3 separate regions of the Homo sapiens genome follow, and all the other regions are linked to region 1. Evidence: promoter capture Hi-C in 16 types of primary human blood cells and fetal thymus (Javierre and others, 2016). All regions are on one chromosome and are shown on one strand. The core of a region is centred on a gene start or on the middle of the fragment in contact, and the rest is flanking DNA. Distances in the headings are between cores, read along the strand shown.

Evidence for each region. Contacts are between HindIII fragments. The CHiCAGO score rates a contact against its expected background, and 5 or more counts as called.
Region 2: a fragment that was not itself captured here is called in contact with the fragment with the promoter of COQ2 in region 1 in 1 of 17 cell types (total CD4 T cells); the score reaches 5.3 in total CD4 T cells.
Region 3: a contact is called between a fragment that was not itself captured here and the fragment with the promoter of COQ2 in region 1, in 3 of 17 cell types (total CD8 T cells, naive B cells and total CD4 T cells). The highest score is 6.8, in total CD8 T cells.

Annotation. Positions count from the first base shown.
Region 1 is chr4:83,282,500-83,286,448 of GRCh38, forward strand. It overlaps COQ2 (coenzyme Q2, polyprenyltransferase), which reads right to left and starts at 2,299. Exons shown (of 7, transcript NM_001358921.2): 1 at 2,013-2,299. The coding sequence starts at 2,265. RefSeq lists enhancers at 1,702-1,941, 2,137-2,431 and a silencer at 2,002-2,331. The HindIII fragment of the contact is 1,217 bases long and covers 1,897-3,113 here.
Region 2 is chr4:82,848,420-82,852,368 of GRCh38, forward strand. It overlaps SEC31A (SEC31 homolog A, COPII component), which reads right to left. Exons shown (of 27, transcript NM_001077207.4): 19 at 3,012-3,185; 20 at 385-558. Among named protein-coding and RNA genes, the nearest start is that of SEC31A, 41 kb to the right of the region's middle. The HindIII fragment of the contact is 6,463 bases long and covers 1-3,949 here.
Region 3 is chr4:82,992,045-82,995,993 of GRCh38, forward strand. The region is part of intron 1 of LIN54 (lin-54 DREAM MuvB core complex component); the gene reads right to left. Among named protein-coding and RNA genes, the nearest start is that of LIN54, 17 kb to the right of the region's middle. The HindIII fragment of the contact is 4,223 bases long and covers 43-3,949 here.

The DNA.
Region 1 (3,949 bases), core at 1,049-3,548:
ATTTAGTTTTCTGAAAAATCCTGTAATGATCACCTTATTTAGAACCAAACCATGCAGGCTGGTATCTTCCAAACATACACAATCTGTAAGTACAATTTTCTCCATTCCCCACTTCTAAGATAATAATGGCTATTTCTTCAGCACATATTATGACAGGCACTGTTCTAAGCACTTAACATATATTAATGAATTTTCGTGACCTCATAACGTCCATATTATCATTAATAGTATCTTCATTTTACAGATGAAAAACGGATGCCCAGAGAGGTGAAGTAATTTATCCAAGGTCCCTCAGATGAGCAGGGTGGAGGTTCACATCCAAGAGGTTTGGCTCCAAAGTTTTGCTCATAACCCCTTTGTTGCCTTCTGTTACATGGCGGAAGGTCCAGCCACTAAGATAGAAGCCAGAGGTTTAACTGGGGAAATGGGAATAATGGCAGATGTTCATCTATAAGGCTACACTGCCACTCCATGCCACAGACTCCAAGAACAGAATTACAGCCAGGCTTCAGATTGGAACTGGGCTTGGAAATGCATGCCTCTCAACGTGAATGTGGCCCCAAAACTCATGGGGGTCATACACAGCTTCCCAATGATGGCAGGGCTGTACCTATCATTCAGTAGGCTTTTATGCTTTGATAGCTGATTGTTATAACTTAGTGCTCTAATCCCAAATAGGTCGTGCATAAATCTAGAATACCAAAAGCAAGGCCTAATTCGGGTCTTGTACGGGCAAAAGTGGAGTAAATGTACCTAGGCCTTTGACTACATCTCCATACACTGCAATGGCAAATGTCATCATCTAGATTGGCTGGAGTTCATCCTTCACTTCTTCCTCCACGCTATCCAGCTTCTTCAGATATGTTCTTGTCTAGTCTCGTTTCCCATTTTCCACACCCACTTGGTGTTCCAGGTCAGGCTCGTATTCTTAGTGTTCTAACACTCCACCCTTGGGTCTTTGCAAAAGTACTTCCCGCACTAAGATCTCTTCCCTCCTCTGCAAAATCAACTTGTCCTTTGGAGTATAATTTCTTCTCGAAACTTTCCAGCAAGGGATCCACAGTAATTTCTCTTTTTCCTGTAGCACTTGCTTTTGTATCACTCATATTTGATCCATATTTTCCTAGCTCACCAAATAGTCTTTTTCAACTAGACCAGAGTTCCTTGAAAGCAAAGGGTTTCCATAGCTTTTTCTATCTCTATGGCCGGACAACGTAGTAGGAACTTATTAATTCACTTAACACTACTGGAGAAGCCAATCAATCAACAAGCGCATAAGGTTAGTTAGTGGTGAGTGCTATTAAGAAAAATTGCGGATAAAGCGATAGAAAGTGAGGTTGGTAGGTGTTAATTAAGATAGGAAGGTCAGGAAAATCTTTCTGTCGGGGGCGATTGTAAGCTGACAGGCAGTCCGTAAGCGCTGTCCCTGCTGCGTTCAAATGAATTAAATCTTTGCCTTATGGGTGATGCAGGTAAAAGAGCTCCGACTCAGCATCAAAACACAGAGTTCTTCTGGTCTGGCTCTGACGAGGAGCCTTAGTTTCCTCAGCGTCTTAACTGTCTTAAGGATTGTCTTTGTGGGCCTTACAAGATTGCGGGGAGGATCAAACATTCTAATAAATGAAGGAGGGCCACGAGAACGGAACCTTCCGCTTGAGTCACCATTTAAACAAGTGTTTGTGGAATGAGAATTATCTTGCCCGCTTCAGGTGCTCAGGATGCAGACAGACGTGAAACTGGCGGGTCCTTTAGGAGACTGTCCCGACTGCGTGTCCTGAGGTGACTCGCCCCAGGGCGCACGGCAGCCGGCAGCCAAGCTCAAGCTTTCAGGCTCTCATTTCAAAGTGTCCCGAGGTGATTCGCCCCAGGGCGCACGGCACCCGGCAGCCAAGCCCAAGCTTTCAGGTTCTCATTTCCATCACGCCCCGGCCGGCCGCCGCGGACAGCTCCGCGGAGCCGACTCGGAGGCTGCTACTTGCAAATTCCCGGGCTGCCCGCCCGCCCGCACTCACCAATGGGCTTGTCCAACCGCATGAGGCGCAAGTACGGCTGCAGGGGGCGGGGCGCAGAGTCCACCACCGCCGCCGCGGACAAACTGAGCTGGCGCCCGCGCGGCTCGGGACAGGCGGGGGGCTGCAAGTCACCACCGTGGGGCGCGCCTGCCGCACGCGCCAGGGCGAAGGAGCGGCCCCGCCAGCCCGGCAGCCACGCCAGTGCCACAGCCCGCAGGCCCCGCGCGAACCCCGCGGCTCGCGAGCCCAGCATGGCGCTGGTGAGGCCGGGACGAGCTCGGATTGACGTCATTCCCCGGCAGGCATGCGCAGTGGCACCCGCAGGATGCAATCCTAGTCTGCCAGGCTGGGCGGCGGTGTGGGCAGAACCTTTCCTCATCCTTACTTGTGAAATTGGGGTCATCGTGGTCGCTTACTCTAGGGAGGAATACTTAATGAAAAAGGGATTTCTATTGGCAAAAGGCAAAAAAATTACAATAAATTTAGTTGTAATTTTTTACAACTCGATCTTGATTGACTTTGTGGTTCCATTATCGGGCAACACTCAGAACGGGGTCTCTGAGGAAACAAACAAAAAATAGAATCGGGCAACACCTTATTCTGTAAAATAGAATAAGTGTTCCAAAGAGTCGAGCGGAGGAAGTTGGCTTTATAGACAGAAAAAGGGCTGAAGAAAGCAGAAGCAGAGAACAAAAAGCGGATTGGTCACTTCAAATTACTTTCATTGCGAGGCGGGGACAGGGAAACAACAACAGAGAAATAACGGATTGGTTAACATTAGGTTACACCAGGTTAAGGACTAAAACAGGAAACTTAATTGTCATGACGATTGCATTTTGAAATGGCCTGGTTGGAAAATTGGCTGTTGTCTCTCTTTCCTGACTTCTCAGAATGTCAGATACAACTTAGTTTTAGTTTGGTGACTTGGAACTTTAGCATGGGTGACTCTTGATTCTTAGTCTGATCTGTTGGGACCTAGTGCAGGAACTTAGTTCAAAACAATGGCCCCCTATAATTTAACCCTATTATCAGCTTTCTCCATAAAATGAAAAGGATAGTGTTTATTCATATGGAACAGTTGTACCAGGAAAAAAAAAAAAAAGCTTTGAAAAACCTACTGAATCCAAAAGAAGAATTTGCGTACACGTTTAGCCATAAAAAAAAAAAAGGGCACCAAGTGGCCACATACAAGACTGTAAATTAAAATCGCATTCAGGGTTAAGGGATGTTCATTACACAAGTGAAAATTTTAAATTTGACAGCCCTTCAAAGGAGTTTTTGTAATCAGTAGACAACCAGCATGTGTGATGCTAAGAACCTGAAGCTGAAAAGTCTGGTCAGCAGAGTCTTGCTCTGTCATCCAGGCTGGAGACCAGTGGAGGGATCATGGCTCACTGCAGCCTCCACCTCTTGGGCTCAATCGATCCTCCCATCTCAGCATTCTAAATATCTGGGACCACAGACACGAGCCACCGTGGCTGGCTAATTTTTAATTTTTCATAGAGAGGAGGTCTCACTATATTGCCCAGGTTGGTCTTGAACAGCTGGGCTAAAGAGATCCTCCTGCCTCAGATGGTCAGTACTCTTATTCATAAGCAACTCTGTATATCGCTGTGTGCCAGGCACTTTACATGTATCAACTCATTTAACCTCTCACTGAGTAACCCTAGGCAAGTCACTCATCTGGATTTTAATATTCTAGGAAGTTGACTTAGTCTTTAGGCTCCTTTCTGTAAAACATGTACAATGATTCTGTGACTTCTTGCATGGCTCAAGTACAGCAAGTTGGATGCCTGGCCACTTTGGTGCAATGAGGCAGGGGGTACCTAGCCTTTCTCCTGCCTGCAAAGAATAAAGGCCAGCAGGCAATTTAGTAACACTCCTAGTTGTTAGATTGGAGATGATTTAGATCTGACTCAAACCTGAAAAGGGTGTAA
Region 2 (3,949 bases), core at 910-3,409, 430 kb before region 1:
TCTTCTAAAAATATTTTATAAAACAACCAAATCACCAAGATTTTTCCTGCTACTTTACAGCTTGTTAGATGAATCAAATAGAAATTTTAATAGTAGATGTACATGTTTAAGTGAACTTTGAGTGACAGAGAAATAGAACAAATCTCCCTAGAGAACTTAAAACCAATTCATATTTAAAATATAATCTGTTTGACTAAATGAGAGAGATGATTTCAAAAAGTAGATCACAAATACAACTTCAAGATTCTAGAAAATAGATCTATTATAACAATATATTGTCTAGTTTTACCATATCAGAGAAGGTCTCCTGCTGAACAAATGAAAACCACCAATTTGAAGAGAAATACAAAAGTGTTCCTACTTCATCTGGACCATATCACTCACATGGGGATAATATTGTTGAGTTTGAACTCTTGGCATCTGGTGGTGGCCAGCAACTGGTCCAGGCCTGCCCTTGGGGAGCTGCTGTTTCTCGTACGGAATTTTAGGTGATTCATGTCCTGCTACAGGCTCTCCTTGTGCTCTACAAAGTCTGTCACGAAGCTGCATGATATTTGGCTAAAAAGGATTGGAAAAACAGCAGACTGTTGAGAGTTCACCCAGGTATATGACAGCATGTTAATTTTCTTAATCAGATTATTCATCAAGATATCCCTTTTTGTTCATAATGCTGGGTATTATACAATAGACCCTGACACACAGATTTGACATTGTGCTTTCTACTACTCAAGACTGGCACCAAAGGTCCATGACATACAGTGCAACTTGTAATTTAACTGAGGCAGAGATCTGAGTTATACCTACCTCATGGTTACTATGCAAGACCAATATCACTTATTACTACTCTTTTGATGTTTTCTTGTGGTTACCTAATGCTCATAAATTACAAAACTACTTTAAAAACTATAACTAAGGCCAGGCGCAGAGGTTCACGCCTGCAATCCCAGCACTTTGGGAGGCCGAGGCAGGCAGATCATGAGGTCAGGAGATCGAGACCATCCTGGCTAACACGGTGAAACCCCATCTCTACTCAAAATACAAAAAATTAGCTGGGTGTGGTGGCGGGCACCTGTAGTCCCAGTTACTCGGGAGGCTGAGGCAGAAGAATGGCGTGAACCAGGGAGGCGGCACTTGCAGTGAGCTGAGAACATACCACTGCACTCCAGCCTGGGCGACAGAGCAAGAATCCGTCTCAAAAAAAAAAAAAAAAAACTATAACTAAAAGAGGCCACCAAAGAGAATCAACTACTAAAGGTGGTTATTGAAGAAAATGGTGATTTAAGAAAGAGATGAAAATGTTAAAAGAGATTTTTGAAATAAAGATTAAGATGTGAAATTCAGATCTGTAGCTCATACAGATCTACATGCATAGAGACTTACAAAAGTATGAGGTGACCCTATATATGCTCTAAGTATTAACAAATAACAAAAAGGCAATGTGTTAAAATGTTTCAGCAAGATTTTAGTATCTTTAAAAATTATACATTCCTATATATTTGTTAAAGGTTTAAAGGGATCATTTAAATGTTTTAGGCATATTTTATTTGCCTTTTGGGGGGGAGAATTATATATTACAATGCTATCACAAAGTCTCAGGACGTATTCCCCCCACCAAAAAAGGCAGGGTCTACTGAGATAAATAGGAAACAACATCAAAATTATGCTTTTTGGCCTAAAGAATGTTCTTTAAAGTCCAAAAAAAAAAAAGCATGAAGAATAATGTATAGAAAATGGATGTGCTTATAAATGGTACTGAAAATGAATTAAGCTAGATGAGCTACGGGTCTTAAAGCAAATTAGTCTTAAGATAAAGGTTCTTATAATATACCTCAATATAACTATTTACTTATAACTTTTTACTTATTAGGTAAAAAGTCTTAACAAAACTAGTATGCCAAAGTCACCATAAAGGAAAAGATTATGTATCAGCTATTCTATCTAACATTCCCATCAACAATTCAGAAACAAATGAGATGGATCTTACAGCTAAGTGTATACAAAACCAACTAGAGAGTCCTACCTCCATAGTCCTGGAGAATATTATGTACTTTTACTCAATGAAATTTATCAATAATTCTCTAAAACAGACAAAATACTAGAAACAATTGACTAAAAAAATACATAAAATACAGAATAAAGTGATTAATAAAAAAGTACAGAGACAAGACTGTATCTGCAAGGCTCAAAATCAAGCTCCATCAGACACAAAATGCAGATATATTGTTGTGGAAAAGTTTCCTCAAACCTCACCCGTACTTTTACCCATGCTCCATAACTGGGTTTGGGTTTCCCTTTGTTGGGTTCCACAGCACCAATACCCTTATCACAGTACTTATATCACACTTCTGGAATCTCATGTTTACTTGTCCATAGCCAAATTGAGTTTGGAGGCTTCCTAGAGGAAGGATCTTGGCAATCTTATTCACCATTCTATACCCACTTGTTGAATTGAATTGAAACAAGTATAGTTTTGCCCAAGTTTTATTGTGCAATAAGTAAGGACAATCTAATTAGTTCCCTCTGCTCTGAATACATAAAAATATACTTGCCCACAGACAGTATCAAACTAAAATGGCATACAGAATGAACTTCAATACTATCTGGGATGGAACATATGGGATTTTAAAAATGTTAACAACTCCATTTGTTTGATTAAACATTAACATTTATAGCTTTTTGACATAAAATATTCCTACAAAGAACTTTGTATGAAGAATCAGCATTTGGCTTTAGAAATAAAAAGTTGGTCTTTTCCCTGTTCATTTTCCTAAAATACTATGTCGGTACAAAGGAATCTATCGCACTGCAAGATTATCCTATCTCTCTAACACAGCTTAGATACACCTAAAATGATCCCTGAAGAATTGTCAATAACATTTACCTGCAGTCAGGTTACAGAAATTCAACTGCTCCAAAACATTCTACCTACTAATATGTTTACATCTAATGCTAAGTGTTATCTACTGGACTCACCTTACTCAAACATTACAAAAATGGTCAATTCTAATTACCTGGTTGGTGTTGTCAGGAAGAAAAGCCAAGGCTGCAGCAATACTGCCCTGAGCTGCCAACAAATTGGCATACTGACTCATCTTCGCAGCCAAGAGAACTCCTACAGTACTAGTGTCCATGGCTTGAGTGAGTTGCACAGCTTTTCGCAGGATGACAACTTTCTCAATCAGATCCTAAATGAAAAAAATGAGTAACAAACAGAAATATCAAGACCATGTATGAGAGGAAGCAGGAAAAGATCAAGAGTTACTAAGATTTCTAAAACCCACTAAAAATATAGTACCTGTTATCATCCCTCCTAGAAAAGTACAGCCACTATTTAGGTAAGTGAAAAAGTAGTAAGGAGGAAGAAGGCCTCTTACTTATGGATAGGGTAGGATAGGAAGGTTACCACCTTTTCCTAAATATCCTTAAGCTACCAGATACTTGTCTAGTGAGCTAAAACAGGCAAATACTCAAAGTGAAAATGATAGGCAGATGTCTAAAGGTAGAAACTGTGTTCTAGCCTGTATGGGAGGAACTATGAGTGAAAATATCTGATATGGTTTGGTTGTGTCCCCACCCAAATCTCATCTTGAATTCTAGCTCCCATAATCCCCATGTGTCATGGGAGAAACCCAGTGGGAGGTAATTGAATCATGGGTCAGGTTTTTCCAGTGCTGTTCTCTTGACAGTGATCTGATGGTTTTATAAAGGGCAGTTCCCCTGCACATGCTCTCTTGCCTGCCACCATGTAAGACGTGCCTTTGCTCCTCCTTCACCTTGAGCCATGACTGTGAGGCCTCCCCAGTCATGTGGAACTGTGAGTTCATTAAACCTCTTTTTCTTTATAAACTACCCAGTCTTGGGTATTTCTTCATTGCAGTATGAAAATGGACTAATACAACATCACACCATCTATCCTATAAAAATAGTACTACTATGAGGTGACCCATAG
Region 3 (3,949 bases), core at 904-3,403, 290 kb before region 1:
AAATATTTGCTAAAATTCACCAGTAAAGCCATCTAGATATAAAGCTTCCTTGTGGGAAGGTTTTTAACTATAAATTCATTTCCTTTAGCAGATGTAGGGCGATTCAGATTATCTTTCTTCCCGAGTAACCTGGGATATTTGATAGTTTGTGTCTTTGAAGGAATTTGCCTATTTCCTCTAAGCTGCCAAATGTAGTAGCACAAAGTTACATGTAATATTCTTTTAATATCTGCAGGATCTGTAGAAATGTCCTCTCTTCATTCCTCGTAGTGGTAAACTGTCTTCTCTCCTTTTATTCTTGATTAGCTAGAGATTATCCATTTTATTGACCTTTACAAAGAACCATTTTTGGACCGGGCATGGTGGCTCACACCTGTAATCTCAGAACTTTTGAGAGGTCAAGATGGCTCACTTGTGGCCATGGGTTTGAGACCAGTCGGGACAACATATCAAGACCCCATCTCAACAAAATAAAGATAAAAATTAGCTGGGTGTGGTAGGGCCTGCTTGTAGTCCTAGCTCACACTCCCTTGACTTGGAGGCTGTAGCAAGCAAACCACGACACAGTGGCGTGAACACGACTCACTGAAGCGTCGAATTCCCAGGCTCAAGCAATCCTCCTGCCTCAGCCCCGCAAGTAGCTGGGACTAGAGGCATGCACCACGATGCCTGGCTTTTGTTTTGTAAAAATGAGGTGTCCCCGGCCAGGCGTGGTGGCTCACGCCTGTAATCCCAGCACTTTGGGAGGCCAAGGTGGGTGGATCACGAGGTCAGGAGATTGAGACCATCCTGGTTAACACGGTGAAACCCCGTCTCTACTAAAAATACAAAAAATTAGCCGGGCATGGTAGCAGGTGCCTGTAGTCCCAGCTACTCGGGAGGCTGAGGCAGGAGAATGGCGTGAACCCAGGAGGCGGAGCTTGCAGTGAGCTGAGATCACGCCACTGCACTCCAGCCTGGGTGACAAAGCGAGACTCTGTCTCAGAAAAAAAAAAAAAAAAAGAAATGAGGTTTTACCACGTTGCCTAGGCTGGTCTCAAACTCCTGAGCTCAAGTGATCTGCCCAGCTTGGCCTCTCAGCATGCACCACTGTGCCTGGCCCATTTTTTATTTAAATTAACTATTATCTTTACCTCTTTGCTTCTGTTTGATTTGTTCTTCTTTTTCTAGAATCTTTTTTTTTTTTTTTGAGATGGAGTTTCACTCTTGTTGCCCAGGCTGAAGTGCAATGGTGCAATCTTGGCTCACTGCAACCTCCGCCACCTGGGTTCAAGCGGTTCTCCTGCCTCAGCCTCCCAAGTAGCTGGGATTATAGGCATGCGCCACCACCCCTGGCTAATTTTTTGTATTTTTAGTAGAGACAGGGTTTCTCCATGTTGGTCAAGCTGGTCTCAAACTCCAGACCTCAGGTGATCCGCCTGCCTCGGCCTCCCAAAGTGCTGGGATCACAGCGGTGAGCCACCGCGCCCGGCTAGAATCTTAAGATGGAAACACAGATCAGGGTTCACCAAAATACTAAATGATGCCCATGGTCTTTATATATTGCTTCCTACCTAAAAATGGTTTTTTGTTTGTTTCTTTGTTTGTTTTTGAGACAGTGCCTCACTCTGTCACCCAGGCTGGAGTGCAGTGGTGTGATCTTGGCTCACTTCAACCTCTGCTTCCCAGGTTCAAGCAACTCTCCTGCCTCAGCCTCCCAAGTAGCTGGGATTAGAGGCGCATGCCACCATGCCGGCTACTTTTGTATTTTTAGCAGAGATGGGGTTGCACCATGTTGGTCAGGCTGGTCTTGAACTTCTGATCTCAACTGATCCACCTGCCTCAGCATCCCAAAGTGCTGGGATTACAGGCATGAGCCACTACGCCTGGCCTGATATTTACATTTTTAAATGGTTGGGGCAAGGGGGAATATGACAGACTTACATGACTTACAAAGCCTCCAATATTTGCTACCTGGAGCTTTACACAAAAAGTCTGTCAACTCCTGGTTTAAATGATTGATTGATTTTAAAACTTTCTTCTTTTTTACAGTAAGCCTTTAATATGAAAACTTTTCCCCAAAGCTCTTTAGATGTATTCCATTAATTTCAATACGTTTTTATTATCATTCACTTCAAATGTTTTCTAATATTGCTTGTGATTTTACCTGACACATGGATAATAAAGAAGTGTGCCATTTAATTCCCAAGCACTTGGAGATTTTCTAGCTATGCTATTATTATTGATTACTAATTTAATTATAGTATTGTCAGAGAACATAATACTCTTTAACATTCTCATCATTTGAAATTAGAGACTTATTTTTTGACTCAGTATACGGTCTCTCTTGGTGAATCCTCCTTGTGCATTTTAAAAGAATTTTTTTTTTTTTGAGACAGAGTCTTGCCCTGTCACCCATGCTGGAGTGCAGTGGCGCAATCTGGGCTCACTGCAACCTCCACCTCCCCGGTTCAAGCAATTCCCCTGCCTCAGCCTCCCAAGTAGCTGGGATTACAGGTGCATGGCACCACGCCCAGTTAATTTTTTTGTATTTTTAGTAGAGACAGGGTTTCACCATGTTGGCCAGACTGGTCTCGAACTCCTGACCTTAGGCAATCCGCCCTCCTTGGCCTCCCGAAGTGCTGGGATTACAGGCATGAGCCACCTTGCCCAGCCAAGAACATTTTTTTTAATAGTTGCTGAGGGTAGTATTCTATTTATGTCAGTTAGCAAAAGCTGGTTGATAGAGTTATTCAGATCTTTGATATCCTTAATAAATTTTTAGGGTGTTAAAATCCCCAAATATGGTGGTGGATTTGTTTACGTCTCCCCTTCTGCACATTTTTGCTTCATATATTTTGAAGTTCTGTTGTCAGAAGAACATACGTTTTTACCTGTCCTGTTAAAAGAGACTGAGAATTATAGGAGTGGGACTCTCCCTTTGAACTAGGAGCAAAGTCCAAACTTCTAACAAGAAAAGGTCTGGGCCAGGTTCAGTGGCTCACACCTGTAATCCCAACACTCTGGGAGGCCAAGGCAAGAGGACTGCTTAAGTCCAGGAGTTGGAGACCAGCCTGGGCACAACATGGTAAGACCTTCTTCTCTACAAAAAAATAATTTTTAAAAATTAGCCAGGCGTGGTGGGGCATGTCTAAAGTCCCAGCTACTCGGGAGGCTGAGACAGGAGGAAAGTGTAATCTCAGAAGTTTGAAGCTGCAGTGAGGTATGATAGTGCCACTGCACTCTGGCCTGGGTGACTGGGTAAGATCCTGTCTCTGGGGGGAAAAAAATTAATTTAATTTAATTTTAATTTATTTTTAATTTAAATTTAATTTTTTTTTAAAAAAGGTCTGATTGGTTTGGCCAGAGTCTATGTAATAGACAGAGACTATTCCAGAGCCAGGATAGCTCATAAACTACAGAACAGAATATAGATGACTGTCTTATGATTACACATCCTTATCTCTTTTTTTTTTTTTTTTTTTTTTTTGGGATGGAGTCTCGCTCTGTCACCCAGGCTGGAGTGTAGTGGCACAATCTCAGTTCACTGCAACCTCTGCCTCCAGGGTTCAAGCAATTCTCCTGCCTCTGCCTCCCAAGTAGCTGGGACTACAGGTGCGTGCCACCACACCCGGCTAATTTTTTGTATTTTTAGTAAAGGCAGGGTTTTACCATGTTAGCCAGGCTGGTCTACATGTCCTGACCTCGTGATCCACCCACCCGCCTCGGTCTCCCAAAGTGCTGGGATTACAGGCGTCAGCCTCTACTCCTGGCCTCCCTGTTTGTTTCAATCAGGGTCACATGCAGGGCATGGTGGCCTATGCTAAAAGAAAGTTTCAGGACCAGGCACGGTGGCTCACACCTGTAATCCCAGCACTTTGGGAGGCCAAGGTGGGTGGATCACCTGAGGTCAGGAGTTCAAGACCAGCCTGAGCAACATGGAGAAACCCCGTCTCTACTAAAAATACAA